Regions from separate parts of the Homo sapiens genome. Here region 1 is linked to region 2. Evidence: promoter capture Hi-C in human tissues and cell types (Jung and others, 2019). All regions are on one chromosome and are shown on one strand. The core of a region is centred on a gene start or on the middle of the fragment in contact, and the rest is flanking DNA. Distances in the headings are between cores, read along the strand shown.

Region 1 (2,733 bases), core at 200-2,699, 260 kb after region 2:
AAGGTTCCTTTTATAAAACCATAGCCTGTGAGCGCTGAAAGGGACCTAAGAGCTCATCTAAGCCAATCTCTTTTTAGGAAGGAGGACAGCGAAGCCCCCAGCGGGTGTCCCTCAGCTAGGCAGTGAGTGGCAGAGCAGAGCTTCACTATACATCTGCTTTTCAAAATGTTTAACCAACTCCTTCAAAAAAGATTTGTATGGAAAGGAAACTGCCTTAATAAAGGCTGCGCGCTAGTGTTTTGGAATTCCTAAGGGGACCGCAAAGATCCCTCAGTGGACACTTAGTGACTGTGATTAAATTTAGTTCCAGACCATCTTAAAGAACGAGACCGCCCACTTGACCCAATCGATTACTCTTAATCAGCACCGGTAACATATGTTATTAATGTGACAGTCTCTCAAGAACTGCCTGACCAAGTTAAAAGCAGAGTTCGGCTAAAATAAGCACTGACCACTGCAGTGATCTGACACACACGTTTGCACAATCCATTGCGCGGCAACCTGGCCTCTCAAAGCACCGATCCGTAACGCTGCAACTCCTGGGCTTTATTAACCGACTAGACTGCCGGCATAATCGATGTACTTCGCAGACCCGCCCGCGAACAGCGGGACACGGCAGACTTCTGGAGGAAACGGTCCGACCTGGCTGCCTCCTGGGTGACTACGGCCTGCCCTCTATTTCCAGAGCGTTCGGCTGGGGGGAACACCCGACTGCAAGGCACTGCCCGAGGAGCACGAATGCCACCCCGAAGGTCCGCCAACTACAACGCCCAGGTTACTTACGTTTTCAGTGTCTCGTTCATTCACCGTTGGCAATGGGGTCCTAGTGGACATTTTACTGCACTTTAATTCTGCACAATGCGAGGGTCAAAACAAAACAGCACAGCCCTAGGAGGCCGGCGACCAGCGTCCTCGAGTCCACGGCAGTTCCGAAAAGGCGCCGTGGGGAGGGCGGCTCCCTTCCCCCTACGGCCGTCTAGATCCCGGGCCTGGCCCGGGCCGTCCCCCGGCGGGTCCCGGGGCTCATTCTCTCCCTGCCTCGGCGGCCGAGGCGAGGAGACCGGGAGGGCGGCAGTGGCGGAGCCGAGCCTGCGGGCGGCGGGCTGCGCTTCGGCCCGCCGGCGTCCCCTTGCCTCAGGGCGCCCCGCGATCCTGGGCCCCCTCACCTCCTTCTCCACTCCCTCCCGTCGCACCGCGAATTTCAGCTCGCGGGCCTCCACACAGCGCCGCCGGCGGCGCCTGAAAACGAGGAGGCGGAGGAGGATGTGAAGGAAGTGGAGCGCAAGACAGGCCGCCGCGGGCTGTGGGCGCCGACCATGGAGCGGGCTGCGGAGGAGGCGCCTGCGCCCGACTGCTTCTCCCTCTCTAGCGAGCTTGCTGCCTCAGCCTCCGCCCTGCTGGCCGCCGCTGCCGCCGCCGCACCCCGGCACCTCAGAGCCTCACGGAGCCAAGATGGCCGCCCCTCGGCTTCCTCTGCTGCCTCCGGCTGCCGGAAGTGACGACAGGCCGCCACCCGGAGTCCCGCCAATCAGCATGGCCTGAGAAAGCCGGCCCGGCTGTTGTTGCTAGGGGCGACTTGGTCCAGACCTCGCCGCGGGGGCGGTGCAGAGGGCTGGATAGTGCTGGTCGGGTCTCCGCTGACTCCCGCGGGCTGCGGGTTCCTCCTGTCCCGAGCGCGCCGGCAACCGCGAAAGAGCCGAGAAACGGCTCTGGGCGACAGCCAGAGCCCTCCCGCTGAGTTGGCATTTACACACTACAGGCCTGGGTTGGCTGGATTACAGATCGAGAGCCTATTGTGCGCAAAAGTTGCGGTTGCATCCCTGGGACTGCGCTGCACCGAATGGAGCCCCAGCATTAATTAATGACAGGGCCGGGGCTACGGGAAGGCGCCGGGCTCTTGCATCCTTAACTGTGACCCGGGAGTCAGGTTCTCGCCAACAAACCTTCCCGTCTCCGGATCTGAGCAGCTGCGGGCTGGGCGCGGACCCTGAGGGCAGCAGGCGCCTCTTGCCCTCAAGGAGCTGGTGGTCAGACGGGTGACAGACCCGGACCCAGCTAAATGCCATCCGGATGGAAGAGTGCAATAACGAGGGTGGCACAAAGGGGATGGGTTTGGGGGCGAAATGAATCTGTAGAGGACCCCAGGGACCAGCTTCCAAATGCCTGTAGGGGGTTTATAAGCAGGCTTTTCTTACAGTCAGTGCGTTGCTGCTGGAAGACTGGAAGCATCTCTGGGTGCCAGCCTCGGGCCAGGCTCGGTAGATGCCTGCAGGCTGGAACACTGGAAATGCTACCTGACCTGGAAGCCTTCCTTGCCCATTCACCTCTTCACGTGCTCGGTGCCTCTACTCAGCTCCTGGCCAGCGGTGGATGGAATCCATGGGTGCAGGGTCCGAAGAGGGAGAGTAGTGTGAGATGGGGGTGACACGAACTGTTACCGAGAGTCGAGTCTACCTTGTGGGTTCATGACATTTGTTACCTCATTTAGCCTCAGGGTAACCCTATGAGATGGGCAGACACACATGCGATCCGAAGTCTAGACAGGTACAGTGACTTGGCTAAAGTACACAGGTTGGTTAGCGACAGAGCTGGGATTCTAACCTAGCTCCCAAAGCTTGGATAATAGGTAAGCCCTTGTAGTGGGGGGCTATGTCATGCTTGCTTTCCCTTTGGTCCGTTGGCATCCCAACTCTCTTGCTATGTTTGAGACATTTCTTGCTCCACGAAATATAT
Region 2 (2,907 bases), core at 249-2,748:
GCCTCGGCCTCTCAAAGTGCTGGGATTACAGGCGTGAGCCACCGTGCCCAGCCAACTTTAGGTTTCTTAACAGCCACATTGGAAGCAAAAGGAAATTAAACAAATGCCTTCGGGCCAGGCAACCTCCACCTTCTGCGCTCAAGTGATTCTCCTGACTCAGCCTCCCGAGTAGCTGGGATTACAGGCATGCACCACCACGCCAGGCTAATTTTTGTATTTTTAGTAGAGACGGAGTTTCACCATATTGGCCAGGCTGGTCTGGAACTCTTGACCTCAAGTGATCTGCCTGCCTTGGCCTTCCAAAGTGTTGGGATTACAGGCGTGAGCCACCATGCCCGGTCAACCAATGTATTTCTTAAATGTATCTGATTGATGTCTCATGCCTCTCTAAAATGTATAAAACCAAGCTGTGCCCCGACCACCTTGGGCACATGTTCTCAGGACTTCCTGAGGGCTGTGTCACGGGCCATGGTCACTCATATTTGGCTCAGAATAAATCTTTTCAAATATTTTACAGGGTTTGAATCTTTTCATAACAATTCTATCAAGGGCACGTGCCAACATGATTTACACCTAATACATCAGCCTCGACCACCTGGCTCAGGTAGCATTTGCAGGTTTAGCCACTGTAAGATTATCACCACCACCTCCACACACAGTCATCCCATTCCATACTCTTAGGAAGCAAGTCACTAAGTGCAGCCCACACTCCAAGGAGATGGGGAAAGTTATAGAGGACCCTCTGGAAGATGGAAGAATCTACCATTATTTGGAATTCTTCTCTAAGGGAGATCAGTCTATTCTTTGTCTCTTTCCTCATTTATTAATGTAATTATTTATATCAATATGGACTTACAGATATTTGTTTTATACTTTAGGTGATAAGTAAAATACTAATTGTTAAAAATACATTCTTGGCTGGGCATGGAGGCTCATGCCTGTAATCCCAACACTTTGGGAGGCCATGGTGGGTGGATTACCTGAGGTCAGGAGTTGGAGACCAACCTGACCAAAATGGTGAAACCCCGTCTCTACTAAAAATACAAAAAAATTAGCCGGGCGTGGTGGTGTGCGCCTGTTGTCCCAGCAACTCAGGAGGCTGAGACAGGAGAATTGCCTTGAACCTGGGAGGTGGAGGTTGCAGTGAGCCGAGATCACGCCACTGCACTCCAGCCTGGGCAACAGAGTGAGACTCCGTCTCAAAAAAAAAAAAAAAACCAAAAAACCAAAAAACTACATTATTTATTTTATTGTTCAAGTTGTTCCAGCTTTTGTCAATGGGAGCTCTTTCAGTTGGTTCCTGTGTCCCTTCTTCATGTTCCCATCCCTTTGTTTTTTAGCATATCCTTACATTCAAACACTAGAAGAAGCTTCAGGCTCATCTTATATTTTCCCTGCCCCAGCCCTAGAATCACCCATTACTCCAAAGAGTTCTGATTTGTTTTGGTACAATGGAATCAGAATCCAAAACTGGGAGCCAGTAGTCTTTCTCCTAAAAACTCATAACCCTGACTTAACCATGGGAAAAATATCAAGACAAACCCAAATTTAAGGACATTGTACAAAATACCTTGCCCATATGTCTCAAAACTATCAAGGTTATTGCAATGGAATCAATGTGTGCCCCCCACCCCAATTCACATGTTAAAATTCTAATGCCTAGAGTAATGCTTTTAGGAGGTGGGGCCTTTGGGAGGTGATTAGGCCATGAGGGGACCCCTCACGGTGGGATTAGTGCCTTTAAAAAAGGGAACCCAGGGGCTGAGCAGTGGCTCATGCCTGTAATCCCAGCACTCTGGGAGGCCGAGGTGGGTGAATCACCTGAAATCAGGAGTTCGAGACCAGCCTAGTCAATATGGTGAAACCCCGTCTCTACTAAAAATACAAAATTAGCCGGGCATGGTGGTGCATGCCTGTAATCCCAGCTACTCAGGAGGCTGAGGCAGGAGAATAGCTTGAACCCAGCAGGCAGAGGTTGCAGTGAGCTGAGATCATGCCACTGCACTCCAGCCTGGGCGATGGAGTGAGACTCTGTCTCAAAAAAATAAAAAATAAAGGGAACCTAGGCAGAGTATAGTGGCTGATACCTATAATCCCAACACTTTGGGATGCCAAGGCAGGCAGATAGCTTGAGCTCAGGTGTTCAAGACCAGTCTGGGCAACATGGTAAAACCCCATCTCTACAAAAAATACAAAAATTATCTGGGTGTTGTAGTGTGCACCTGTAGTCCCAGCTACTTGGGAGGATGAATTGAGCCTGGGAGGCTGAGGTGGAGGTGGGAGGATGAAGTGCACCCAGGAGGCGGAGGCTGCAGTGAGCCAAGATTGTGCCACTGCACTCCAGCTTGGGCAACAGAGACAGACTCTGTCTCAAAAAAATAATTATTATTAAATTTTTTTTAAAAAGGGAACTCTCTCACACTCTTTTCACCATGTGAGAATACATCTAGAAGTCGGTAGCATGCAACCAGAAAGAGGGTCTGCACCAGAATCTGACCATGCTGGCACCCTGATCCCAGACTTCCAGCCTCCAGGACTGTGGCTTGTGTTGTTCGTGAGTCACTAGCCTGTGGTACTTTGTTACAGCCTCGCAAGCTAAGACAGTCCTCTAATGCAAGGAAAGTCTAAGAAAACAGCCACAGAGCAGGAGGCATGATGACTAAATGTGATATGGTATCTTGGATGGGATCCTGAGGTACAACAAGGACAAGGGAAAAACCAGTGATACCAAATAAAGTGGAGTTCAGTTAATAATAATGTACCAGGCTGGGCACAGTGACTCACACCTGTGATCCCAACACTGGGAGGCCGAGGCAGGTGGATCACTTAAGGGCAGGAGTTCGAGACCAGCATGGCCAACATGGCAAAACCCCATCTCTACTAAAAGTACAAAAATTAGCCAGGCAT

What was found. Contacts are between HindIII fragments. The study calls those that stand out against the background at their distance.
Region 1: the fragment with the promoter of MARK3 here is called in contact with a fragment that was not itself captured in region 2 in 2 of the 25 tissues and cell types used here (hippocampus and pancreas).

What each region holds. Positions count from the first base shown.
Region 1 is chr14:103,384,131-103,386,863 of GRCh38, reverse strand. MARK3 (microtubule affinity regulating kinase 3) reads right to left here and starts at 1,449. Exons shown (of 18, transcript NM_001128918.3): 1 at 784-1,449. The coding sequence starts at 834. RefSeq lists enhancers at 513-702, 643-1,632, 1,633-2,624 and a silencer at 983-1,172. The HindIII fragment of the contact is 8,681 bases long and covers 1-2,733 here.
Region 2 is chr14:103,641,080-103,643,986 of GRCh38, reverse strand. The region is part of intron 1 of KLC1 (kinesin light chain 1); the gene reads right to left. Among named protein-coding and RNA genes, the nearest start is that of KLC1, 13 kb to the right of the region's middle. The HindIII fragment of the contact is 7,416 bases long and covers 1-2,907 here.